Linked DNA regions of Homo sapiens: region 1 is linked to region 2. The links are contacts of gene promoters, found by promoter capture Hi-C in blood cells and fetal thymus (Javierre and others, 2016). All regions are on one chromosome and are shown on one strand. Each heading gives the region's core, a stretch centred on a gene start or on the middle of the fragment in contact. The rest is flanking DNA. Distances are from core to core; before and after follow the strand shown.

Region 1 (6,710 bases), core at 1,222-3,721, 560 kb before region 2:
AAAGAAAAGAATTTTCAACCCAGAATTTCATATCCAGCCAAACTAAGCTTCATAAGTGAAGGAGAAATAAAATACTTTACAGACAAGCAAATGCTGAGAGATTTTGTCACCACCAGGCCTGCCCTAAAAGAGCTCCTGAAGGAAGCGCTAAACATGGAAAGGAACAACCGGTACCAGCCGCTGCAAAATCATGCCAAAATATACAGACCATCGAGACTAGGAAGAAACTGCATCAACTAACGAGCAAAATCACCAGCTAACATCATAATTACAGGATCAAATTCACACACAACAATATTAACCTTAAATGTAAATGGACTAAATGCTCCAATTAAAAGACACAGACTGGCAAATTGGATAAAGAGTCAAGACCCATCAGTGTGCTGTATTCAGGAAACCCATCTCACGTGCAGAGACACACATAGGCTCAAAATAAAGGGATGGAGGAAGATCTACCAAGCAAATGGAAAACAAAAAAAGGCAGGGGTTGCAATCCTAGTCTCAGATAAAACAGACTTTAAACCAACAAAGATCAAAAGAGACAAAGAAGGCCATTACATAATGGTAAAGGGATCAATTCAACAAGAAGAGCTAACTATCCTAAATATATATGCACCCAATACAGGAGCACCCAGATTCATAAAGCAAGTCCTGAGTGACCTACAAAGAGACTTAGACTCCCACACATTAATAATGGGAGACTTTAACACCCCACTGTCAACATTAGACAGATCAACGAGACAGAAAGTCAACAAGGATACCCAGGAATTGAACTCAGCTCTGCACCAAGCGGACCTAATAGACATCTACAGAACCCTCCACCCCAAATCAACAGAATATACATTTTTTTCAGCACCACACCACACCTATTCCAAAATTGACCACATACTTGGAAGTAAAGCTCTCCTCAGCAAATGTAAAAGAACAGAGATTATAACAAACTATCTCTCAGACCACAGTGCAATCAAACTAGAACTCAGGATTAAGAATCTCTCTCAAAACCGCTCAACTACATGGAAACTGAACAACCTGCTCCTGAATGACTACTGGATACATAACGAAATGAAGGCAGAAATAAAGATGTTCTTTGAAACCAATGAGAACAAAGACACAACATACCAGAATCTCTGGGACTCATTCAAAGCAGTGTGTAGAGGGAAATTTATAGCACTAAATGCCCACAAGAGAAAGCAGGAAAGATCCAAAATTGACACCCTAACATCACAATTAAAAGAACTAGAAAAGCAAGAGCAAACACATTCAAAAGCTAGCAGAAGGCAAGAAATAACTAAAATCAGAGCAGAACTGAAGGAAATAGAGACACAAAAAACCCTTCAAAAAATTAATGAATCCAGGAGCTGGTTTTTTGAAAGGATCAACAAAATTGATAGACCGCTAACAAGACTAATAAAGAAAAAAAGAGAGAAGAATCAAATAGACGCAATAAAAAATGATAAAGGGGATATCACCACCGATCCCACAGAAATACAAACTACCATCAGAGAATACTACAAACACCTCTATGCAAATAAACTAGAAAATCTAGAAGAACTGGATAAATTCCTCGACACATACACTCTCCCAAGACTAAACCAGGAAGAAGTTGAATTTCTGAATAGACCAATAACAGGAGCTGAAATTGTGGCAATAATCAATAGTTTACCAACCAAAAAGAGTCCAGGACCAGATGGATTCACAGCCAAATTCTACCAGAGGTACAAGGAGGAACTGGTACCATTCCTTCTGAAACTATTCCAATCAATAGAAAAAGAGGGAATCCTCCCTAACTCATTTTATGAGGCCAGAATCATTCTGATACCAAAGACAGGCAGAGACACAACCAAAAAAGAGAATTTTAGACCAATATCCTTGATGAACATTGATGCAAAAATCCTCAATAAAATTCTGGCAAAACAAATCCAGCAGCACATCAAAAAGTTTATCCACCATGATCAAGTGGGCTTCATCCCTGGGATGCAAGTCTGGTTCAATATATGCAAATCAATAAATGTAATCCAGCATATAAACAGAGCCAAAGACAAAAACCACATGATTATCTCAATAGATGCAGAAAAAGCCTTTGACAAAATTCAACAACCCTTCATGCTAAAAACTCTCAATAAATTAGGTATTGATGGGACGTATTTCAAAATAATAAGAGCTATCTATGACAAACCCACAGCCAATATCATACTGAATGGGCAAAAACTGGAAGCATTCCCTTTGAAAACTGGCACAAGACAGGGATGCCCTCTCTCACCACTCCTATTCAACATAGTGTTGGAAGTTCTGGCCAGGGCAATTAGGCAGGAGAAGGAAATAAAGGGTATTCAATTAGGAAAAGAGGAAGTCAAACTGTCCCTGTTTGCAGATGACATGATTGTATATCTGGAAAACCCCACTGTCTCAGCCCAAAATCTCCTTAAGCTGATAAGCAACTTCAGCAAAGTCTCAGGATACAAAATCAATGTTCAAAAATCACAAGCGTTCTTATACACCAACAACAGACAAACAGAGAGCCAAATCATGAGTGAACTCCCATTCACAATTGCTTCAAAGAGAATAAAATACCTAGGAATCCAACTTACAAGGGATGTTAAAGACCTCTTCAAGGAGAACTACAAACCGCTGCTCAAGGAAATAAAAGAGGATACAAACAAATGGAAGAACATTCCATGCTCATGGGTAGGAGGAATCAATATCGTGAAAATGGCCATACTGCCCAAGGTAATTTACAGATTCAATGTCATCCCCATCAAGCTACCAATGCCTTTCTTCACAGAATTGGAAAAAACTACTTTAAAGTTCATATGGAACCAAAAAAGAGCCCGCATCGCCAAGGCAATCCTAAGCCAAAAGAACAAAGCTGGAGGCATCACACTACCTGACTTCAAACTATACTACAAGGCTACAGTAACCAAAACAGCATGGTACTGGTACCAAAACAGAGATATAGATCAATGGAACAGAACAGAGCCCTCAGAAATAATGCCGCATATCTACAACTATCTGATCTTTGACAAACCTGAGAAAAACAAGCAATGGGGAAAGGATTCCCTGTTTAATAAATGGTGCTGGGAAAACTGGCTAGCCATATGTAGAAAGCTGAAACTGGATCCCTTCCTTACACCTTATACAAAAATCAATTCAAGATGGATTAAAGACTTAAACGTTAGACCTAAAACCATAAAAACCCTAGAAGAAAACCTAGGCATTACCATTCAGGACATAGGCATGAGCAAGGACTTCATGTCCAAAACACCAAAAGCAATGGCAACAAAAGACAAAATTGACAAATGGGATCTAATCAAACTAAAGAGCTTCTGCACAGCAAAAGAAACTACCATCAGAGTGAACAGGCAACCTACAAAATGGGAGAAAATTTTCGCAACCTACTCATCTGACAAAGGGCTCATATCCAGAATCTACAATGAACTCAAATTTACAAGAAAAAAACAAACAACCCCATCAAAAAGTGGGTGAAGGACATGAACAGACACTTCTCAAAAGAAGACATTTATGCAGCCAAAAAACACATGAAAAAATGCTCATCATCACTGGCCATCAGAGAAATGCAAATCAAAACCACAATGAGATACCATCTCACACCAGTTAGAATGGCAATCATTAAAAAGTCAGGAAACAACAGGTGCTGGAGAGGATGTGGAGAAATAGGAACACTTTTACACTGTTGGTGGGACTGTAAACTAGTTCAACCATTGTGGAAGTCAGTGTGGCGATTCCTCAGGGATCTAGAACTAGAAATACCATTTGACCCAGCCATCCCATTACTGGGTATATACCCAAAGGACTATAAATCATGCTGCTATAAAGACACATGCACACGTATGTTGATTACGGCATTATTCACAATAGCAAAGACTTGGAACCAACCCAAATGTCCAACAATGATAGACTGGATTAAGAAAATGTGGCACATATACACCATAGAATACTATGCAGCCATAAAAAATGATGAGTTCATGTCCTTTGTAGGGACATGGATGAAATTGGAAATCATCATTCTCAGTAAACTATCACAAGAACAAAAAACCAAACACCGCATATTCTCACTCATAGGTGGGAATTGAACAATGAGATCACATGGACACAGGAAGGGGAATATCACACTCTGGGGACTGTGGTGGGGTGGGGGGAGCGGGGAGGGATAGCATTGGGAGATATACCTAATGCTAGATGACGAGTTAGTGGGTGCAGCGCACCAGCATGGCACATGTATACATATGTAACTAACCTGCACGACGTGCACATGTACCCTAAAACTTAAAGTATAATAAAAAAAAAAACAGATACATAAATGAGTCTTAGCTAATACCTTCATATGTGCTGTGTAGTGACGCTTGCCTAGTAAGACATCATGCTGAGAAATGGACTGATTCTCACAGCAGCCCGCAGGGTACTAGTCACCCCCCATTTCACAGATGAGAAGATTCGCATTGCTCAGTATCACACACCACTTGACATGTAGACCTGAAATTCAGACTTAACGTTTGTGGTGTGGGAAAGTCCACACTCTTGTGAGCCCCTAGCATGAGTCTTGGGAAATGGTGGGCCCTTTAAAAATGATAGTTTCTTCACTATGTGCAAACTTTAGGGACCTAAGGCCCATGCTATTACCAAGAGGTGTTGCAGGACTTCTAAGAAGACCCGGTGAGGCCTGGAGGCTGCAGGATGAATAATGGAGGACAGGCACTTCCCGGAGAAAGTGAACATGACAAGCAAAGACCTTTGAAATATGAGCTGGTGTCTCACTTCCCCCTCTAGGTCTTCCAGCCCCTCCTTGGTCTGCTTCCCAGGCTCCAGAACTAAGCTCCTCCTGTCTCGAGGGAAACCGAACGGCTTTGGGAAAACACACGATGTTCTCAGAAGTAAGGGCAAGCTTCCTGCGCCCCCAGCCTGTCCTGCCTGCGCTCATCCTGGATTGATTACTTTTATCGTCCCCCTGTGGCCCCAGATATGCTCCAAAGGACTCAGCAGGCCTGAGACTCTGTCTGGTCTGGCTCCTGCCATTCCAGCACATTCTACACTCCAGCCAAACTGGAGTCCTCTGGATCCCAGCACCTGCCACCGTACCTTTGCATGTGCTGGGACCCTGGTCTTCCCACTGTCCCTCACCCTTCAGCTTCCCCTAAGGACTGCCTCTGACTCTCGGCTTAGAAAAAGTCCCCTGCCCTCCAGTCCCACCCTGGACCTCCCTCTTGCAAAGGTCCTGGCAGTTGCAGTCACATGAGCTGTTGCAAAGATCCTGGCAGTTGCAGTCACATGAGCTGTTGCAAAGGTCCTGGCAGTTGCGGTCATGTGAGCTGTCTGCTTGTCTCCCACATGCACTAGGGGCAGGGCTCCAGCAGCCTTCCCCCTCATGCCCCAGCCTGCGTCCCCAGCACCACACCCTGTGGCTAAGACACAGTGGGAGCGCAAAGAAGTCACGTTGGCGTGGTGCACATGACAAAGGCCGGGTGATAGTCTCGCTCCAAGCAGCCTCAGGTATGCTCCTGTGATGGTTAAGTGTCAGCTTGATTGGACTGAAGGATGCAAAGTATTGTTTCTGAGTGTACCTTGGTGTGTCTGGGTGTTGCCAGAAGACATTATCATTTGAGTCAGTGGACTGGGAGAGGAAGACCCACCCCCAGGAAGATGCACCTACAGTGTAGGTGGGCACCATCCAATCAGCTGCCAGTGCAGCTAGAAAAAGCAGGCAGAAGAAGGTGGGATAAGCTGGCTGGCTGAGTCTTCCAGCCTTCATCCTTCTCCTGTGCTGGATTCTTCCTGCCCTTAAACACCAGACTCCAGGTTCTTCAGCCTTTGGACTCTTGGACTTACACCAGTGGTTTGCCAGGGAATCTCAGGCCTTCGGCCACAGACTGAAGGCTGCACTGTCGGCTTCCCTACTTTTGAGGTTTTGGGGCTTGGACTGAGCCACTACTGGCTTCCTTGTCCTCAACTTGCAGACGGCCTATTGTGGGACTTTTACCTTATGATCATGTGAGTCAGTTCTCCTTAATAAACTCCCTTCCATATATACATATATCCAGCCGGGCACGATGGCTCATGTCTGTAATCCCAGCACTTTGGGAGGCCGAGGCAGGCGGATCACTTGAGGTCAGGAGTTCAAGACCAGCCTGACCAACATGGTGAAACCTCGTTTCTGCTAAAAATACAAAAAGCAGCCAGGCCTGGTGGTCTGCACGCCTGTAATTCCAGCTACTCGGGAGGCTAAAACAGGAGAACTGCTTGAACCCAGGAGGTGAAGGTTGCAGTGAGCCAAGATAGCACCACTGCACTCTAGCTTGGGCAACAGAGTGAGACTCTGTCTCAAAAAAAATAAAAACAAAAATAAATAAAAATACAAAAATTAGCCAGGCGTGGTGGCAGGCACCTGTAGTCCCAGTTACTCAGAAGGCGGAGGCAGGAGAATTGCTTGAACCTGGGAGGTGGAGGTTGCAGTGAGCTGAGATTATACCACTACACTCCAGCCTGGGTGACATTCCAGAGTGATACTCCGTCTTAAAAAAACAAAACAAACAAACAAACAAAATATATATATATACATATGTCCTATAAATTCTGTCCCTCTGGAGGGCCCTCACTGCATTATAGAGGAAAACGTGCATCATGCACGGCAGAGATGAAGACACAGAGGCCCAGGTGGGAGAGCTTACAGCTGTGCAGAGCCATGGAGCAAACGGAGA
Region 2 (6,524 bases), core at 3,182-5,681:
CCCGGGTTCACACCATTCTCCTGCCTCAGTCTCCCGAGTAGCTGGGACTACAGGCGCCTGCCACCACGCCCGGCTAATTTTTTGTATTTTTGGTAGAGACGGGGTTTCCCCGTGTTAGCCAGGATGGTCTCGATCTCCTGACCTCGTGATCCGCCCGCCTTGGCCTCCCAAAGTGCTGGGATTACAGGCGTGAGCCACCGGGCCCGGCCGAGGCAGGTATTTTTATTGTCCCCATTTTACAGATGCAGAACCTGAGCCCAGGGAACTTAAACTCCTCACTTAAGATCATGCTATGGATTGAAATGTGTCCTTCCAAAATTCGTGTTGGATTCGTGTTGAAGCCCTAACGTGCAATATGACTGCATTTGGAAATGTGGCCTCTAAGGAATCAAGGCTAAATGAAATCAGAAGGGTGGACCTTGATCTGATAGAATTAGTGTCATTATAAAAAGAGACACCAAAGAGCTCTCTCTGTCTCTCTCTCAACCGTGTGAGGACACAGCAAGAAGGCAGCTGTTGGCTAGCCAGAAAGAGTGGTCTCACCAGAAATGCATCGGCCAGAACCTTGATCTTGGACTTCCAGCCTCCAGAACTATGAGAAAACAAAAATGACTGTTGTTTAAGCCACCTAGTCTGTGGTGTTTTGGTTACCACAGCCCAAGCTGACTAATACAGATCATCTTCTAGTAAGTGGGAGAATGAGGACTTAACCCTCGCAAACTCAAGTCCAGAGTTTAGACTTTTAACTTTTCTATTTTCATACTTTCTACTGTCTCTTCTGCTGTATAAGTGATGTTATAGTTTTATGAAATATTTATATGTAATATAATAGAACATGGAATAGAAAATATTTCCTGCATATTCATTCTTGCAATGAGAAAATTATAACTAGGCAAGGAATATATATGGTACAATCTAAAGTGAGGATTAGGCCGGGCGCTGTGGCTCATGCCTGTAATCCCAGCAGTTTGGGAGGCTGAGGTGGGTGGATCACTTGAGGTCAGGTGTTTGAGACCATCCTGGCCAACATGGCGCAACCCTGTCTCTACTAAAAATACAAAAATTAGCCAGATGTGGAGGCACAATGCCTGTAATCCCAGCTACTTGGGAGGCTGAGGCAGGAGAATCGCTTGAACCCAGGAAGCGGAGGTTGCAGTGAGCCGAGATCACACCGCTGCACTCCAGCCTGAGCGACAGAATGAAACTCTCTCAATAAGTAAATAAATAAATCAAATAAAGTGAGGATTGAACAATTGAAGGGTCACTGATAATCACTGTAAGGATTTAGCGCCAGGGCTTGGCAGTACTCAGGTGAGTAAACGTTAGTTATTGCTAATATTATTCATTTATCTTATTATTGTTATAATTGAGTTAGTTCTGTGTTCTGATCCATGAGTGAATTGGCCTCCTGGAAGCTGCCCTCAAATCCCTCCTCTTTTACACAGTGATTGATGGTCCATGTCGCCTCCTTGTAGTTACAGATTAATAATAGGCCCTCCTCCTGGAAACAGGCCAAACGCCAAACCCCATGCAAGCTGGCCTGGAGAAAGCACTTCTGAAACTTCATCACCAGCAGGCAGCTAGACGACTGTTGAATGGGAGGGGGGGTGGTTTTGAAGGGTGGAATGGTGACAGAATTAGTCACCAAGTAAACAAGCAACACCTTCGATCAATGCAATGGAATGTAGGTAACCCAGGGGCCCTCCTCACTGCTCAGCTGAGGGTGACGCCAACATGGCCAGGCTGGCACACCCAGCAGAACCAGCCCTCTGCCCCCAACATCAGTAAAGACCTTGCAGGAGGAAAGAACAACCCCGCTTTGCCTGCCCCACAGTCCTGCAGCTCCATGTGTGTGCCCGCACAGTGCTAGGAACACGGCAGCTATTATCAGGAGTGCCAGGTACAGTGCTACAGGTTGCCTCCTGTACAAGGGGACACAGGGAACTGAAATCCAGTCCTCACTGAACTGCCCAAGCCCTGATTCCTGGTATGGGACTTTGTGGGTCCAGGGGCAGGGGTGCCTTGATCAAAATCACCTTGGATGTTTTAGGGCTGCTTGGTGATTGATGTTTTGCTTTCGGAGTACTTAATTATGTTTGCACAAACGGATGGTAATCCTAAAAATCTTAGAGCTCGCTCTCATAGTCTTATTATTGCACCAAACATTGTTAAGTGCATGATAATCGCAGGTAATTTTAATTGGAGGCTTACTATGTGCCAGGCAGCACCAGGGTGAGCATAGCAGGACACAAAATATAGGAAGGCAACCATCTCTGGTGCAGAATCGGCAGCAGAGAGTGAGCGCCTCCCTGCATTTTATCCCCCAGGTGCTCACTGGCTTCACCCTTGCCCTGACCCTGGTGCCAGGCACTTCACACACATTGTCTCCTTTTCCCTTGCAGAGTCCCATTATTCCCTGATTGCACAGATAAAGAAACCAAGGCTGAGCAATGCCATCCCCTCATCTCACGAACGTCACCTCCATGAGGGTAGGCACCTTACTAGTCCTACTTGCCCAAGAGTAGCAGTCAGAAAGCTACGGGGAGGCACACCTGGGGTTTGAACCTGGGTCCACGTGACTCAGGCACTCAAATCCTGAACTGCTTCAGGGCAGGGCACTTGGCTTGAAGAGAAGCTGCAGACACAGAGACAATCAAGTCACATCTAATACTCCAGCAGGACAGATGAGCCTGCAAGGTGCAAAGGTACCCCCGCCCCCAACCCAAAGCCTTTTTCAATTCCTCTCCCTCCACATCTCTTGTCATGGTAAAGCAGGCAGAATCCATGGGCTTTAACGGGCCCATTGCTTTTCCCAAAGCTCATGCCTTTTTCCTAAAAACAAAACCCTTCTGGGTTCCAGAACTCTTTGGAAAAAAAGAATCTTCTGTGATTTGGGACATTGGTTTGTTCCCCCACCCTCACTTAAATGAGAAACTACTTTAGCATGCCCCGCCCCGTCTGTTGTCTTTATTTAGGAGGAAGCACCCTCTACATACCCTGAGTATATACACCCAGGGCCTGAAGCTGCTGTGATCAGCTCAGGATCCCCAGGAGGCTGAGGCGGATCAGGCCCTGGACTCCGGGGGAACAATGTAAGGGACACCAAAAAGCTCAGCCATGGAGATGAATAGTATTTTAACATGAAATTTGTGAAAATCAAAATTACCGCTGTTCCTGATCTTATCTTTCTGTAACATGTTCATAGTTTGTTCATCACGGGTGTCTTGCCATTAATTCTGACTTTTAAAAATGTTGTGTTAACATACCGTTTATCTCCATGACTGAGTTTTTTGGCATCCCTTACATTTCGTGCCCAAGGTGAGAGTCTCACTGGCTGCACCCTCATCCCAGGCCCGACTGGACTCCAGTTCCACAGCATCCTTTCCATGAGACCTGGAACCAGATGCAGCTCCCTCTTCACCCAGCTTCATGTTCCTAGTTGTAAAATGGAGACGATGGTAACAGCGAAAACAAGAACCACAGCTAAGAGTTACTAAGTGCACAGGTATTTACGGGCAGTAGAGTCCTCTCAGCCCTTTGATCTCAGTACTGTTATTAGGTTCACTTTACAGATGAGGAAACTGAGGCCCAGAGGGCTGAGGGAACCTGCTCCAGGGCACCCAGCCAGCCCAGGGTGGAGCTGGGGCTGGCATCTGGCGGTGTGGCTGCAGCGCACCCGCATTCTAATCGCAATGACTCTTCCAGGCAGGAAACTGGTTCAGAGGGAGATGTAAACAGCAGGGGTCCTGAAGCCAGGATTTGAATCAGCAGCTGCCTCATAGGGTGGTCTTGAGCGTTAAATAAGATTCACAAAAGGCACTCCACAAGTCCTTTTTCTTGTCCTCCCACTTCTTTAGGCAATGCCTGAGGTGAAGGCTCAGATTCCACTCGGCTATGGGGCATTCTTGCCCTGACGGATCCCCAAATCACACAGCCTATCCCTCCATCCAGTGACTTCTCCCCATGTCCTGTGCTTGAAATGACCCTCAATAGTTCCACCAAATAGGAGTTATTTATGTGGCTATGCGCCTAACACTGACCACATTGTCATTTGCTCCTTGTAAAACTAAAAACTTTGAGATGAGTGCTATCTTTGGGTCCATTTCACAGATAGTGGAACTGAGGCTTACACATATCCAAGGCCACACAGTGAACAGAAGGCAGAGCTGGGATCAAACTTGACCCTGTCTGACCCCTGGCCTCTATATGACACCGTCTACCACAAACAGCAAACCCTCCAGCCATGCCTAAAGGATCTGAAAGCAGTTACCTGCTGAGCCCCTGTGGGAGTATCTTCAGTCCCCTCGTGTCACCCGGAGCTGCTCCTGCACAGGGTCCTGGGTCTCCAGTGCGTGCTGCCCAGTGCCTGGCTGTCGGTGGAGCCTGGCTCCCTGCACTTTGCTTCCTTGTGCAGAGCCTGCTGGCTGAATACACAGAGCAGGGCAAACACAAGCCTGGGTGGAGTCCTCCCTTCTCCCCGGACCATCCTGCAGAAACAGGTTCTCTTCCTGATGTGGGGCTGCCCTCCCAACTCCAATAAAAACTGAGCACCTGACTCCTCTCGCATTAATGCCTCCCTGGCACCCCAAGTATTCTACCCAGTGCCCCTCACCTACTGAGGCTGCCGGGTTGACCTGGGGAAGCAGTTTCCTTCCCCAGTAACCGTAGGTCATGGTCAGAGCAGGGAAAACACGTTCTGTGAGATTTTGTAGTTCTGTCTGCTGACTTCAGAACACCACCTCCACCACCACCTAACCACCTAATTGGAAGGAAATAGCTTCTCATCCACTCAACTACCCCTAGTCATGTAAACCTTATTCCCAAAGGGGTTTGGACACCAGAAATCAGGTAACCTGAGGGTGGTTTATTGCTCTGGAGACATACCATGATGTTGGAAAGGGCATTCTTTTTCTTTGCAGGCCAGAAATTCGACAGGCTATGCAATTTATTTAATTCAAGCAAGGATGTTGTTTAAAGTGTCTTACAAGGACATATACAATAGATTATGAGAGCATGAAATAACATGTAACAAAAGAAGATTGAAGAACAAAATTTGGAACATCAAATGAGAACAGGATCAAAAATAAATGCTCTTGTTGATTTACAGACTTGCTATGAAGGGTTTGCAGATATGGCTTTGAGCTTCCTAACAGCCAATGCAAGAAAGGAAACTTGATAAGTTACACTACTTAGTGCTCTGGAGAAGACATTCAAGAGAATTGCGACCAATAATTATTGTGGTTTTATTCAACAGTATACTCAGCTTAACCCCTATCATGAATACTTGTCAAGCACCAGGCTATATATATAAGCCAGAGTTTAAAGAGGTGAGTAAAAGATGCTGGGTCTCTACCCTTCTTGCACTCAGTGTCATTGGACATAGAATCCTGTAAATATAAACATAGAATTACAGGGTGTGATTCTCATTATAAAAGAAAAGCCAAGGCAGCTAAGGGAGAGAAATAGAGAGAGCTGGGGAAGGCCTCTTTCAGAAATCAACATTTAAGAAAAAAAATACTATTTAAATAAATGCTGAATACACAACCAGGCACACCGTAATTAGGGTTGTAAAGTCGATTCCAGCTCAGCACTGTACATGTCAATCTGGAATGTAGTAAACCCAATTATTAAGCAGCTGCCATGCACACGCTCTGTGCTGACCCAAGCCTGGAGGCTCAGGAGCTTGAGCTCTGGCCCTGGGTTGAGACAGACAAGGGCTCGGATCTTGATTCTTACTGATCGGCTGTGGAATTATGAGCAAGCTACTGTACTTCCCTAAGTCTCTGTCAGCCCCCTCAGCTGTGTGCTCCTTTGTGTTTATTTTGCATCTATTCTTGTATCCCCAACTCCTGGCACCCTGCAAAACGAGGATGGGGATCCCTCTATGATAGAGTAGGTACTCTGCAACTCCTGGCTGATTGGACTTGTTCATTCTTTTTTTTTTTTTTTTTAAGACGGAGTCTTGCTTTGTCATCCAGACTGGAGTGCAGTGGTGTTATCTCGGCTCACTGCAACCTCTGCCTCCCAGGTTCAAGCAATTCTGTTGCCTCAGCCTCCTAAGTAGCTGGGACTACAGGTGTGCACCACCATGCCTGGCTAATTTTTGTATTTTTAGTAGAGGTGGGGTTTCTCCATGTTGGCCAGGCTGGTCTGGAACTCCTGACCTCAAGTGATCCACCCGCCTCAGTCTCCCAAAGTGCTGGGATTATAGGCGTGAGCTAACACTCCCCATTGTCTTGCTCTCTTTTAAATTATACATGGCAGTAACTGCCATTTGGATGGCATTAGTCTTTGCAAAGCCTTTTGTGTTTATCCGTCCATTTCATTTATGTCCACAGTGAAATTAAGATCTTTTGCTCCCATTTTACAGAAGAAAAACATAAGGTTTAGGGATATGAGTGATTTAGGAGATTAAGAAAAATCATTCAGGTGGGGGCACTCAGCAGTGTGTCTGGCAAAACGTAGACCATCACCAAGCATCAGCTGGTGTAGTCAAGGGTGTTGATGAAGGATCTGGCAAACTG

The links. The method cuts DNA at HindIII sites, captures the fragments that hold promoters and counts their contacts. A CHiCAGO score of 5 or more calls a contact.
Region 1: a fragment that was not itself captured here is called in contact with the fragment with the promoter of BCAS1 in region 2 in 1 of 17 cell types (neutrophils); the score reaches 5.3 in neutrophils.

Annotation. Positions count from the first base shown.
Region 1 is chr20:53,505,568-53,512,277 of GRCh38, forward strand. No RefSeq gene overlaps it. Among named protein-coding and RNA genes, the nearest start is that of TSHZ2-AS1, 4.6 kb to the left of the region's middle. RefSeq lists enhancers at 4,827-5,328, 5,329-5,828. The HindIII fragment of the contact is 4,853 bases long and covers 46-4,898 here.
Region 2 is chr20:54,066,163-54,072,686 of GRCh38, forward strand. BCAS1 (brain enriched myelin associated protein 1) reads right to left here and starts at 4,432. Exons shown (of 13, transcript NM_001366298.2): 1 at 4,271-4,432. It overlaps MIR4756 (microRNA 4756), which reads right to left and starts at 2,323; the gene lies at 2,246-2,323. RefSeq lists an enhancer at 3,151-4,025. The HindIII fragment of the contact is 13,812 bases long and covers 1-6,524 here.